Regions from separate parts of the Homo sapiens genome. Here all the other regions are linked to region 4. Evidence: promoter capture Hi-C in 16 types of primary human blood cells and fetal thymus (Javierre and others, 2016). All regions are on one chromosome and are shown on one strand. The core of a region is centred on a gene start or on the middle of the fragment in contact, and the rest is flanking DNA. Distances in the headings are between cores, read along the strand shown. Region 1 overlaps FGF14 (fibroblast growth factor 14). Region 2 overlaps FGF14 (fibroblast growth factor 14). Region 3 overlaps FGF14 (fibroblast growth factor 14). Region 4 holds the start of ITGBL1 (integrin subunit beta like 1). Region 5 overlaps NALCN (sodium leak channel, non-selective).

Evidence for each region. The method cuts DNA at HindIII sites, captures the fragments that hold promoters and counts their contacts. A CHiCAGO score of 5 or more calls a contact.
Region 1: a fragment that was not itself captured here is called in contact with the fragment with the promoter of ITGBL1 in region 4 in 1 of 17 cell types (erythroblasts); the score reaches 5.2 in erythroblasts.
Region 2: a fragment that was not itself captured here is called in contact with the fragment with the promoter of ITGBL1 in region 4 in 1 of 17 cell types (erythroblasts); the score reaches 6.5 in erythroblasts.
Region 3: a fragment that was not itself captured here is called in contact with the fragment with the promoter of ITGBL1 in region 4 in 1 of 17 cell types (erythroblasts); the score reaches 5.1 in erythroblasts.
Region 5: a contact is called between a fragment that was not itself captured here and the fragment with the promoter of ITGBL1 in region 4, in 1 of 17 cell types (endothelial precursors). The highest score is 5.6, in endothelial precursors.

The regions. Positions count from the first base shown.
Region 1 is chr13:101,782,999-101,785,698 of GRCh38, forward strand. The region is part of intron 3 of FGF14 (fibroblast growth factor 14); the gene reads right to left. Among named protein-coding and RNA genes, the nearest start is that of FGF14, 130 kb to the right of the region's middle. The HindIII fragment of the contact is 5,002 bases long and covers 1-2,700 here.
Region 2 is chr13:101,819,387-101,822,086 of GRCh38, forward strand. The region is part of intron 3 of FGF14 (fibroblast growth factor 14); the gene reads right to left. Among named protein-coding and RNA genes, the nearest start is that of FGF14, 96 kb to the right of the region's middle. The HindIII fragment of the contact is 172 bases long and covers 1,180-1,351 here.
Region 3 is chr13:101,892,043-101,894,742 of GRCh38, forward strand. The region is part of intron 1 of FGF14 (fibroblast growth factor 14); the gene reads right to left. Among named protein-coding and RNA genes, the nearest start is that of FGF14, 24 kb to the right of the region's middle. The HindIII fragment of the contact is 1,767 bases long and covers 476-2,242 here.
Region 4 is chr13:101,451,267-101,453,966 of GRCh38, forward strand. It overlaps ITGBL1 (integrin subunit beta like 1), which reads left to right and starts at 1,409. Exons shown (of 11, transcript NM_004791.3): 1 at 1,409-1,665; 2 at 2,617-2,700. The coding sequence starts at 1,568. RefSeq lists an enhancer at 987-1,491. The HindIII fragment of the contact is 2,431 bases long and covers 1-1,645 here.
Region 5 is chr13:101,158,834-101,161,533 of GRCh38, forward strand. All of the region lies in intron 15 of NALCN (sodium leak channel, non-selective), which reads right to left. Among named protein-coding and RNA genes, the nearest start is that of LINC00411, 220 kb to the left of the region's middle. The HindIII fragment of the contact is 2,828 bases long and covers 1-2,700 here.

The DNA of each region.
Region 1 (2,700 bases), core at 23-2,522, 330 kb after region 4:
GTATAAGCATTCCTTTTTCTCCACAACCTTGCCAGCATCTGTTATTTTTTACTTTTTAGTAATAGCCACTCTGACTGGTATTAGATGGTATCTCATTGTGGTTTTGATTTGCATTTCTCTAATGATCAGTGATGTTGAGCCTTTTTTTCATATGATTGTTGGTGCATGTATGCCTTCTTTTTAAAAGTGTTGGCCGGGCGCGGTGGCTCAAGCCTGTAATCCTAGCACTTTGGGAGGCTGAGGCGGGTGGATCACAAGGTCAGGAGATCAAGACCATCCTGGACAACATGGGAAAACCCTGTTTCTACTAAAAATACAAAAATTAGCTGGGTGTGGTGGCACATGCCCATAATCCCAGCTACTCAGGAGGTTGAGGCAGGAGAATCGCTTGAACCCAGGAGGCGGAGATTGCAGTGAGCTGAGATTGCACCACTGCACTCCAGCCTGGTGACAGAGCGAGACTCTGTCTCAAAAAAAAAAAAAAGTATCTGTCCATATCCTTTGCCCACTTTTTAATGGCGTTGAGGTTTTTTTTTGGTAAATTTTTTAAGTTCCTTATAGCTGCTAGATATTAGACCTCTGTTGAATGTATAGTTTACAAAAATTATCTCCCATTGTCTAGGTTGCCTGTTTACTCTGTTAATAGTTTCTTTTGCTGTGCAGAAGCTCTTAAGTTTAATTAGATCCTATTTGTCAATCTTTGCTTTTGTTGCAACTGCTTTTGGCATCTTTGTCATGAAAATCTTTGCCTTTGTTGACATTGCCCTAAATGGTGTTGCCTAGGTTGTCTTCTTTGGTTTTCACAGTTTTGCATTTTACATTTAAGTCCTTAATCCATCTTGAGTTAATTTTTGTATATGGTGCAAGAAAAGGGCCCAGTTTTAATCTTCTGCATATGGCTAGTGAGTTATCCCAGCACCATTGACTGACTAGGGAATGAATCCTTTCCCCATTGCTTTTTTGTTGTTGTTGTTAGGTTTGTCAAAGATCAGATAGTTGTAAGTGTGCAGTCTTATTTCTGAGTTCACTATTTTGTTCCATCGGTCTGTGTGTCTGTTTTTGTACCAAAGCCATGCTGTTTTGGTTACTGTAGCCCTGCAGCAGCTTCTTGATTGATCTCTTTGTTTCCTGATTCCTCTAACTTATCCTGTACATTAGTGCCAAATTGATATTCCTTAAAGTTCTTTCAACAAGTCACTGCTCACAGTTCAAAGTTTGAACATCATAGCTTAGAAGTAGCTATCTACAATGTGGTCCCAATAGACCTTCTGATCTTAACTTCTATTATTCTTTAATATCCTCTAGTTCAGAGAAGTCTTTTAAATATGCCCTACTCATTTTTGCTGCCAGAAAATTTTCTACATTCTGATCATTTTGGGGAATATAGTTTCTTCTTCTCTCAATTTATTCAGATCCCACAAGGCTCCACTTATGACCCACCTTCATGAAGCCATTTCTGATTGGGTTGCCACATTGCTCAATTCCAGGAGAAACCATTAACATATTTGTGCTCCAGGGAGCAAATTTCTTGTTTACTTTCTAATATTACCCTTTCTTCCCTTTAGACTTTAGTCTTATGTAAAGTTTAATTGATGTCATTCTGAAGATTATTTAACCTTTTCAATGTTTGAATGGTAACATATAATGAATATAATCTTCCCATTTCCCAGCTATTTTCCCATTCTTATCTAATCTTTCTCTTGTCCCACTTGTCAATTTTACTCATGGCTTTCCAGGGTCAGCATGTGTTTATGAAACACCTGCTGTGTGTCTTGAACTGTTTAAGACAATAGACATACACTGTTGAATGAATTAGACTTGATCTTTGCTTTGGTGCAGCACTCATATCACTGCATACGCAATCTATGGGATCAAGTGTGGCAAGGGGGAAGTATCAGATGCTAAGGTGGCTTTAACAATAGGCTAGTGAGGTCATGAAAGGGGCCCCAGACATCTATTTCATGCATAGTTCTCAGGATCACTTCTAGCTTTATTTATACTGTTCCACATGAAGAGGAAACAACCAACCCCAGATCTGCTAAAATGTGTTCAGGGTCTCACATTGTCTCCTAGGTACTCTATTTGAGTAGAATGAGAAGTGCAGTCATTACATCTGCCACAAAAAAGCACATGTCTTCCAAATGTACATATAATGCATACATGGATGTGACATTGGTATATCTTTAGTTTTAATATTTTAAAAATTATATATAGATATGTAAATTATTCAAAGGCAGGGAGCATCCCTTCTGCTTTGTAAAGAATATTTGCGGTGAGGGTTAGCAACCCCAGCTGATCATGACAGACTCTATTTAAATATCCACAGTTTCAAAGCCTAGCTTCTCCCAAAGATTAAAAAAAAAAAAACCCAAACCAAAACAAAGCAAAAGCTATTAGAAAACAATATTATTTTCTATATTAATAAATAAAGAAAAACAATATTAAAGTAGATAATATAAAGTAAAACAATATTATCTAAGAGCTGGGCAACTTGATGTATGTAGGGTTTGCAGCTGTGTCATTTTAAGCCATTCTTGATATTACTAACTGGGTACTACAAGTTAAACTTTAAGTTTAAACTAAACTACATTATCTGTCTATCACCTATCTATCTATTTATCTATTAACTATTATCAATATCTATCTTTAAAGTAGGATACCTTATATATTGTAACCGTATTCTATTATCAAAGTAGCTGG
Region 2 (2,700 bases), core at 16-2,515, 370 kb after region 4:
TGTGATAACCCGGTTAGCAGTGGGGAATCTTGCCCCAAAATTGGGTTCACAGACTCAATGTGAATAGGAGAGAAATGGGCACTTTAGTAAGGGGATAGCTATCTTCCATTATATTCTACCTATCAGTGATGTAAAAGTAAACTTAAATTACAAGTAAATAAAAATGAATTATATGGCGTAATTTTGTACTTAAAATTTGAGGATGTGAAATTGAATCTTTCAAGTTACTTCAAAATAACTGCATCAGCAATCGTCAGCTTAGTTTTATTTCCAGCATCAGACAAGAAGGTATCTCCTATTTTCTAGCAATGATACTCATTCATTCCCAAAGTTATTATAATATGGATTTTTAGAATAGTTTTGAAGATACATGATAAATCAAATACATGTCTTATGATAAGAGAGAAAACATGTCCTGGTGTCTTCTGTCTTGGGACTTTAAATCCTCACTTTTGCACAGCCATGCACTTCTCCCTCTGATGTTGAGGGCATCCCTGATGGATGCGACGGAAAGATATTTCAGAGAACAGGCTGTGTAATTAGAAAAAAGGATGGTACATGAGCCTCAACATTATACTCATCATTTTTCTCATCTAAGATCCACAAGCTTTTGGAAAATCAGCTTTCCTAGCTATTTCTTGGCTGACAGCAGGTAAAAAGATTTAAGATGAGAATTAATTACACCGATATAAAGTTATCAAGGGACAAGCCTATGGGACTTGCTCATTGGCCCCAAAGGATATAAAATGTCAGAGAAACAGTGGCAGCAATATATCAATGAACCAAATGTTTCTGATGTTTGACAAAACATATTATGGCAATAAATGATGCTGTGTTCTGTAATGAGATTGTATAAAGAAAAAAAAACAGTTTTTCAGCAGATATGCTACTTAAAGCAAGATTTCTTTATGCATATCACCAATAGTGAACAGATTAGTCCTATATAATTTTAATAATTTTGCAATTAAGAATCATGGAAAACAGATTAAAATAAAATAAACGTTGGCTGATAACAAAATTAAAATTGTGAAATCAGACTAAAATGAACATATCCAAGATGAAGACTAGCCTTTACATTCAGGTTGTGTTTCTGGGTTGAACGTGTGCAGCAAAGTCATAATTAACATTTAAGAAGGAAAGTTAATTTGAATTAAAGCAATATCATGTTTCTCATATAAAAGCTTATCAAAATACAATTACATATATATTCATTTATGTAGATAGTATCTATGGCTATGCAAGGGGAATTGTGAAAAGCTACTTTGAAAGTGCTTTCTTAGGCTATGATTATACCCCCTTTTTTCTGCTTTAGTGAAGTATAACTTACACATATTAAACTGCCCAAGTATTAAGCTTATAGCTACAGCTACAGTACACACACACACCACACACCACACACACACACACACACACACACACAACACACACACACACACCACACACACAGATACCAGATCAATAAATAGAACATTTTTAGCACTGGAGATACACTTGTGCTTCTTTTTAGTCCAGTCTCCCCCGAGAGGTAACTACTATTCTGACTTCTATCATAGAAGATTAGATTTTGCTTTTTTTTTTTTTGAGACAGAGTCTCGCTGTCGCCCAGGCTGGAGTGCAGTGGCATGATCTCGGCTCACTGCAGGCTCCGCCCCCCGGGATTCACGCCATTCTCCTGCCTCAGCCTCCCAAGTAGCTGGGAGTACAGGCGCCCGCTACCACGCCGGGCTAATTTTTTGTATTTTTAGTAGAGACAGGGTTTCACCGTGTCAGCCAGGATGTTCTCGATCTCCTGACCTCGTGATCCACCCGCCTCGGCCTCCCAAAGTGCTGGGATTACAGGCGTGAGCCACTGCGCCCGGCCCAAATTTTGCTCTTTTTAAAAATTTCACACATATTGATCGTGCAGCATTTATTCTTTTGTGTCTGGTTTCTTTTTCTCCTTTTTATGTCTGTGAGATCCATCTGAGTTCTTGTGTGTATCAATAGTGTGTTACTTTCACTGCTGTGTAGTATTCTGTGTTATGAATATGTTGTAATTTATTTATCCATTCTACTACTGATGGAAATTTCATTTGTTCCGGTTTGGGGGCCATTATTCATAATGCTGTTATTAAGATTATTTGTACATGAACTTTTAGTAGAAACATTTGTCTCTCTTGACTATATACCCAGGAGTGGACATGCTATGTTTGAATGTGTAAATATGTTTAACGTTAGTAGATTTTGCCAAAATGTTTTCCCAAATGGTTATAGCAACTGACATGCCAATAGCCGTATATGAGAGTTCTTTCTGTTCTACAACACTACCAGCATTCAGTATTCTCAGCCATGTTAATTTTAGCAATTCTGGTGGGAGTCTAATGGTATCAGTTTGTGGTATTTTAATGAGTAATGATGCTGAGCACCTTTTCATAAATTTCTTGGCTATCTGTGTATCTTCTTTTGTGAAGTGCTGTTTCAATTTATTTGCCCATTTTTAAGTAATTTGTCAGTCTTGTTTCTTGTTTCATAAGAATACTTTAAATATTCTGGGCATGAGTTCTTTGTCAGATATAAGAACTGCAGATATCATCTTTTCACTCTCATAATGCTGTCTTGTAAGGAACAGTTCTGAATTTTAAGAAAGTTCAGTTGATCACTTATTTTTTTAAGTGAATAGTGCTTTTAACATACTGTAGGAAAACTGTGTCTACTCTCTGA
Region 3 (2,700 bases), core at 109-2,608, 440 kb after region 4:
GCAGACTTACAGGAGAACTGATAAGATTACCAATAGCTAATTTTCAAGATGTCTAGAGTTTGCATAGCAAGGAAAATAAAATAATAGGGAATTGAACACAACACAATCCAAAGATGCAAAAGAAGCATCTTTTCAATTTTTTTTGATTATTTAAAAATGTGTCCCTTATCTAAACTCTTAATTTTCCCCTAAGGAAAAGTGCCTTATATTACCTAAAAAATTTTTGTTATGAAGATTTCCATGTAGGTTCCCACTGTACATTCTTTGAAAAGTGTTTTAGAAACAAACAAAAAAATAGGCCTCATCCTTATTGTTTACCATTTAGCCACATATATTATTTGGGCATCAGAAAGGCCTAGTAAAAGCTAATTAAGATCAAAACATTCTTAACTTGATAATTCTTTTAACAGCAGAGAGGAAATCCCTGGGCCTTGTAATTACATGGGCCATTGAACATGTGAAGTAAAAGGAATTAAGCTTGTTATGACTCACTACCACGTCCCCAAAATACCCCAAACCCAGTGTTATATGGCTAAAGGGAAAATGAATTTGCAGAGAACAAGGAGGTAGTTTGTCCCATATTCATCCTAAAATCTCCAGGAACAAAATCTAACATTTGACAGTAGGCTGGTCTCCCCATAGTGTGCTGGGAAAACAGTGGGGTTCAGTTGCCAATTAGCTATGTGGTTTAATGTAAGTCATAGCCTCTTGAATTTCTCTGAAAGGTGGACATAACCATATCTGGCCAAATAACAGCACAGGATGCTGTATGAATCTCAAATGTTATTTTAGATAAGAAAGTAGCATCACCACGGAATGAGGATGGAAAAGATGGCCAAGTGTCCAAATCTTGGGAGGTCTGTTAATTATACAAAAAATGAATTGCATCCTAAGAATATTTGAGGTCAGTAGATTAAAGCAGGCAGTGGCAAGATCATACGTAGACAGGTGAACTATCACTCTGGTCACTGGATGTTGGGTATGATGCATGCAGTTAAGATGCCATACCCATGACCCTGCAGTAGATGCCAGATCCTTTCTCAGAGGCTGGACAGTGACAAGGACTTAATTGTGAGAGTAATGTGGGAGGCAGGATGGTAGGATTTTAATAGAGGCTTGTTCTCTGCGTGGGCTGCCTGCTATTGAAAGCCAGTCTCTGCATCTTTTCAAATGGCTAGTTCCTATTCACCCTGTCATCACCTCTCTGTCCATGATTGCCTCTGGCAGGTTTTTCCTGCTCCTGCACCTTGAGCTGCATGAAGTCAGCCTGGGTTGTACCATCACAATATTCTGCAGCCAAGTGCTGCTATGGCATTAACCATGATGTATTGTGATTATGTGTCCATGTGATTGCTTTGCTGTGGTGGAGAGAACAATGGCTCCCTGAAAGCACCTACATTCTTATACCTGAAGTGTGTGACTGTGTTACATGACATGGCAAAAGGGCCTTTGCATACAAGATTAAGTTAGGGACTGTGGCATGGTGAGATTATCCTGGATTATTTGGGTGTGTCCAGTGTAATAACAGGGTCCTTAAAAGGAGAGTGGAAGGCAGAGGTGACTATTAAGTAATTATCAGAAAAATGCAACATTGTTGACCTTGAAGTTCAAGGAAAGTGCCACGTGATAAGGAATGTAGATGGCCTCTAGAAATGGAAGAAGGCAAAGAAATGGATTCTTTTCTACAGCTTCCAAAAAGGATCAGAGCCCTACTGACAAGTCAATTTTAGCCTGGCGAGATCCACGTCAGAATTTTAGCCCACAGAACTATAAGATAATCAGTTTATGTTCTTTCAAGCCATTAAGTTTGTAATGACTTATTGTTACAGCAGTGAGAAACCAATACACCTGACAAGATTCTTAGCATCTCATGGGGAGGGTCTGTGTTTTCTTTGACTCCCAGAGGCATCATAAGGCAGGTCCTCTGTGTTAGTGAAAGTGCTTTCACTAAACACAACAGCTCAACCCAACCTTTCCTGGCTTTTTTTTTTTTCACACTTTTTATCTTGCAGAGATATGGAAAGATATTTAAGAAAGAGTGACAATAATATCAGGCTTCTTTTGCATTTGGAATAGCCCTTTAGAGTTTTAAAGGTGATTTCATATACCTTAACTCATTTGAGATTTAACAACTCCTGCTAAGATTGGATTGTATCTACATTATGATTAAAATAACTTACAAATATACAAATATGGAAGAGAAGATAGAAAAATGAAAATGGTTAGGTGAGAGAAAAGGTAAAGCTTTAAATTCACCTTTGTGTGATTATTGTCATGATACTTTATTTAGCTTGCTGGTGCTTCTAATTGAAGAAACACCACCTGTATAGGCCATAGACATAAAATATTAGCAGTAGATAGCATCTCAGGAATTATCTATTAGTCCAATGAACTCCCCCAGTCAGGGCAACTGACTGAGACTTATCCTTGTCCTAAGTACAAAGAAGCAGTCTCAGAAACACAAAGTCCTGCCCCACACCCAGCGCTACAGCTGCGAAGTTGACAAAGAAATTTCCGCTCCCATTTTAACCTACTATTTCTGCCAAGAGGCTCTTTATAGCATGTTATATTGCTTAACATATACCCACTGACAGATTTCATTGGTAACTAATGTAGAGTGAGCATTAGATGTGAAACTGAGCTTCTCTAGCTTCCTATCATGGTTTGGGACATATAATAAGATTTTCCTTTACTGTAAGA
Region 4 (2,700 bases), core at 159-2,658:
CTATGATTAGAGGACCTTCATCGTCTTCTTGCTCCAGCAGGCTAGTGTTGTGGTGGTCTTACCCTTATACCTACTTATATATAAAGGACAGGGAGAAATCCCATCCTATTATGGCTCATCCCTGATTTTAAGGATCTGGGACCACAGATGATTCTTGGATGGTTCTATTTCATGAGGAAGGATTGCATGTACAGTGCTCTTCTTAGGGTGAATGAAAAATGTTTTCCCCCTTCCATATAACCCTCTACACATTTTCCCAGATGACCATAAATGTAGGGGATAGTGTATGCACTTTGGATTTCAGCTGAAATACGACTAACTTCCTCTGTGAATTTGAGCAAGTCAGTTGACCTCTTTGCCCTCAGTTTCTTTATCTTTAAAATGGGAGTAAGAATGTCTCCCTGTTCTCTTCCATCTCCTTCTTATTTCTACCCAATTTAATTCAATACTTTTTTCAGTTTTTTGTTCAGATGCTACCATCTTTGATTAGATCAAGTGCCTGTATCTCATCTGGAAGTAACTTCTCACTGCACTTGCAACCCTTTGTTCTTTTTTTTTGTGGTTTTGTGTTGATTAATGTCTTTCTAGCTCATTGGACTCTGAGAGAGCAGGGATCATGTCTCCTTAGTTCTCTGTTATATTCATTCTGTCTTGCACAAAACCTGGCACCTGATAGATGCTAAATCCCCATTTGCTAATGCATAAATAAATGTGTGATTATTGTCATAATTAGAGAAAACATACTAAATGACTGGCACATAGTAGGTGCTTAGTAAATGACACCAATTGTTTTTCAGTGCAATTTGTGCTATAAATAAACATTTAATTTTCTTTTCTCACATTTGATATATGGGGAGAATGGGGTGAATTTGAGACAACTACAATTTAAACTGTCCAAGTCACCAACAAATTGTGGTGTGATAAGCTACTGGCCTAAACAGCTGGAAGCATGACACGCTTTTTAAAGACTAAAGAAATGAAATATCCAGTTTAAATCAAAGGATAATAAATGCAAGAAAAAGTTGTGTTTGTCAGATTTCCTTGCCCCGGCCCCAACCCAAACTCCAAAGAGTGCATCTACTTTAAAAGCGTGTGGTGAAAGTAATTCCCTACCCAAGTGTTCCCACTACTGTCACTGGCCTCACCCTTCTCCACAACTCAGGGATTATTTTAAAGGTTTCTTTAATATCGGCCAGTCCAAATATTCTCTTGTCAAATATTTCTGTGGCCCGTACTTGAAATCTGTGAACAGGACACTTTTTTTTTTTTTAATGTCAAAATAAACCATCTGCTTGTACAACTGTTTCTAATTACTTCCCTGCCTAGACTCTCCACTGAGGGGTTTGGCACCAGCACCCCGCCCAGAGCAGTGCCGCTGCCCAAATCCTCGCAGGCAGCTCATCAACGCAATTGCAACTCCGGCTGGAGCCCCGGACCTGCAAGCCTGGGTGTCCGTGGGTCCGTCTGCCCAGCCATCTGCTGGTGGCACCTCTCCCTCCTGCCGCCTCCCTCGGTGAACCCCACCTTGCAGAAGTGCAGCTCGCCCGGAGCAGCCCAGGAGCTCAGCATGCGTCCCCCAGGCTTCAGGAACTTCTTGCTGCTGGCGTCCTCCCTTCTCTTTGCTGGGTTGTCAGCTGTTCCTCAAAGCTTCTCGCCATCTCTGAGGTAAGTTTGGTTTGTTATTCTTCAGTACAGACCTGCCCTGCTTATGTGGCAGGGCTCAAGCTTGCAGGATGGCTGCCCTAAGCCAAGAGCTGTTATTAAATTGGACAAGGGATAAACTGTTTTCAACCTGTTCCTTTTCCTCTCCTTATATCTACAGCGTGTATTGCCTCATGTCTGTCCTTTTGCTTTTCCTTTGGAAAAATGCAATCATTGAATAAAAATATAATTTTCTTTTCTGCAAATACATATCAGGAGGAATTCCTGCTGTGAGTTAAAATGCTATGTGTACCAGTATCTTCTCACAACATGTAAAGCAGAATGATCTGTTTCCCAAGGGCAGCAACAGGAGGTCTGTGTTACATTTTGTATCATCCTGAAAGAGACTGAGTGAGGCACACTGCAATAGTGAAACTAAACTTTTTAAAAGTAGAGTTCCTAAAGACTGCTTAATGCAAATTATGCCCGATGCTATCATAGCATGTCTAACTCTTTCTATAGATTCACGTTTTCTCTTCTGTAATATAAGTGCCCATTGGCCATCAGATAGCAGTGGGACGTTTTTTAAAGGAGAACTGAAAAGTCAGCTGAGTGCCGTACCTTGGATTACTTTGTATTTAATCTAAATGTGCATATAAGATTTAGTGATAAACTACCAAAGAGCAGGGCAGTTCACCTCTGTCCACCTGGAGGAAGGACCTGTGTCCGGGGGCAGGTCACCCATTACACATTTTGGGCCCTGGTCATTTCTCTGGTGGGTGATACCTGTTTGCTTGGGAAAATACAGCCCTTCCAGGCAGCGCTTGGACCCCAGAGAGATGTGGGCCTCAGGCGTCCTGTTCTTGGGGTTGTACGTCTGCACCTGGAGGGGACACTGGGGAGGAAACGTGGGTTCGGAGCAGGGGGCGGCGTCCGCGTCTGACCCGGCCTGCCGGTTGCTTGTCGCCCGCGCAGGAGCTGGCCGGGCGCCGCCTGCAGGCTGTCCCGGGCCGAGTCGGAGCGACGCTGCCGCGCACCTGGGCAGCCCCCGGGGGCCGC
Region 5 (2,700 bases), core at 46-2,545, 290 kb before region 4:
ACACTGCTACTGATGATTCTACCACAACTTTCCTCCCACAGCACTCTCCTTATTTCATCTGGGGGAGTGTGAGCTGGGAAGATAATCAGGAATAAGAGGACCACCAGTCATCTTTGGAAGGTGGAATCTCAATTTAGAAGATAGAGCACTTAGCACTGAGATTTTAGGCACAAATCCAGAGTAAGATGAAATGATCCAGTTAAAAATATGTTGAAGGCATATGAGAATCCAGGTAGTCATATAATTCCCTTTCCTAAACTCCCAGAGTGAAAAAATAATAGGAAAGTGGGAAAGTTTGATGGCATATTAAGTAAATGGCAAGGAATGAATATCATCACTTTCCTGACTTTTATTCTTTCATTTGATCCATGTACAAATACAAAGCAATGCTGTCAATGACAGCATTTATTAATACAACCAAGATTTCTGCTAAGAGAAAATTGTATGTATTGACAAAATCTGACTATTCTCAGAGGAGATTACTTATCTAGGGCCCTGTGACCCCAGCTCTAGTGCCAGAGCTTGCAGCACAGGTCAGGTACATGGTAGACCCAGCTCTTCATCATGGCTTGCAGTCGCCCCCTCCGGGTGGTTACTAACATGTTGCCTATGCTGGGGATTGCGGTTTGTGTAGGTGGCCAGGGGTCGGAGCAGAAATTCGCAGTAATGAACAGAGAACATATTAGAACTACGTATATTAGAAAACCATGCAGCATGAACACCCCAAAATCAGAAGAGACACTGGACATAAACAACAGATCTGTCATAATGAAGTATACAGCTACAGGTGTCCCAGTAATGACAGCTCTCGACTCTTTCCCGGATGAGAATTTTAGATCTAGAAGAGATCTTGTCAGGGTCTAGTGCAGGGGCCCAGATTTAAATGCCTATGAGACCAGGGAGATGATATAAGTGCCAGCTTGGATGACATAAAACAATCATATAAGACAATATATAGGAGTTAGGACTCGTGTCATCAAAGAAAAGAGGGCACACCGGATCTAAAGATACCCAAGTTAGATTTGGTAAAACTGAAAGAGAGGGAAGACATTTCTCCAAAATCACATCTCTTTGTTAGTGAGAGAGAAGGTTTTTTTTGTTTTTTGTTATTTTTTGTTATTTTTATTTTATTTTATTTTGAGACGGAGTCTCATTCTGTCGCCCAGGCTGAAGTGCAGCGGTGCGATCTCGGCTCACTGCAACCTCTGCCTCCTGGGTTCAAGCGATTCTACTGCCTCAGCCTCCTGAGTAGCTGGGACTACAGGTACACACCACCATGCCTGACTAATTTTTTGTATTTTTAGTAGAGACAGGGTTTCACCATGTTAGCCAGGATGGTCTCGATCTCCTGACCTTGTGATCTGCCCGCCTTGGCCTCCCAAAGGAGAGAGAAGTTTTCATTGTTTCCTCCTGTGGACCACTCAGTGGAAGGAAAATGTTTGCAAGGTCCCTTCTAAATTTCCTTCCCTCTTCCTTCTTTTTCGCTTTGTCTGTGTCTCTTGCCTTTTATCTGCGCTTATCATAAAGCAGAGAGGTAAAGTGAGAACAGGAGCCATATGAAGGTGTAACTGACCAAGCGTGGGGAGGAGGGGCAGGCTAGGAAATGGGAACCAATACTCCCTCAGGACCCTACAATGGCACTCACATCTGCTTCCTCCTGAATGAGTGGTTGGGGAGGAGCTGGATTATCTCAGCTCCTCTTTTCTGTTACCTTTGCCTAGACTGTTAAATTACAGTGGCATGCAATAGATAAACATATTAAATCTCTCTGTAATATGCAGGTGAGTTCTCCAAATGTCTGCCTGTTCTGTTTTTTGTTTTGTTTTGTTTTTGTTTTTTTTTATGAAGGTGTTTCTTCCTTATAAATTGCCTTATGGTACAAAGTAACTCATCACCCTTGTCAAAGCTGGTTGAGCCAGAAACCGGGCCAAAGACAGGGACTTTCTATAAGACTGGCCAGCATTGCGAGGCAATCAGAGATGAAATTCCTGCCTAAAAGGAATCATATTGATTAGCTGGATCGACCAAATCTGTTCTTATTGATCAAGTTTTGAACCTGAGATACAGAAAATGTTGACTATTTGCAATGGAACTGAAAGTGAAAATACACAAGGAGGAAAACAGAGACAGGTTGAGTTACCATAAAGGCAAACACCAGCAGTTATTAAATGTTGCTCTTCCTCAAGGCTCCAGCATATTTTTTCTTCCCACCCTATACAATCTCATCCAGATTTACACCTTCCAGTATTATGAAAACATGGAGAACTTTACTAGGACTGAAGCTCAAAGGAGGCAGTCATTTTTGTCTGTTCTGTTCATTGACCTACGCCACATGTCTAGAACAGCACCTGAATAAATAATTGAGAATTACATTGAATGTCCACATTTATATCTCTAGGCAGCCATCCTTCTCCCCTGAACTCCAGACCTATACACAACTATTAGGCATCTCTGTTCAGACATCTTGAAAGATTCACCAACTCAACATGCCCAAGGCTGAGTTGATGAACGTTTCCCCCAAATACGGTTGTATGCTAGTGTTTCTTAACTCAGTTAATGACATTTCATTCATGCAACTGTAGAAACCTGAAACCAGGAATCATCTTTGAGACTCTCTCACTCATGTCTTTAAATCCAACCTATCACCAAGTCCCTCTTGATTTTATTTTCCAAACAGCTCTCTGGTTCACCACTGCCTCC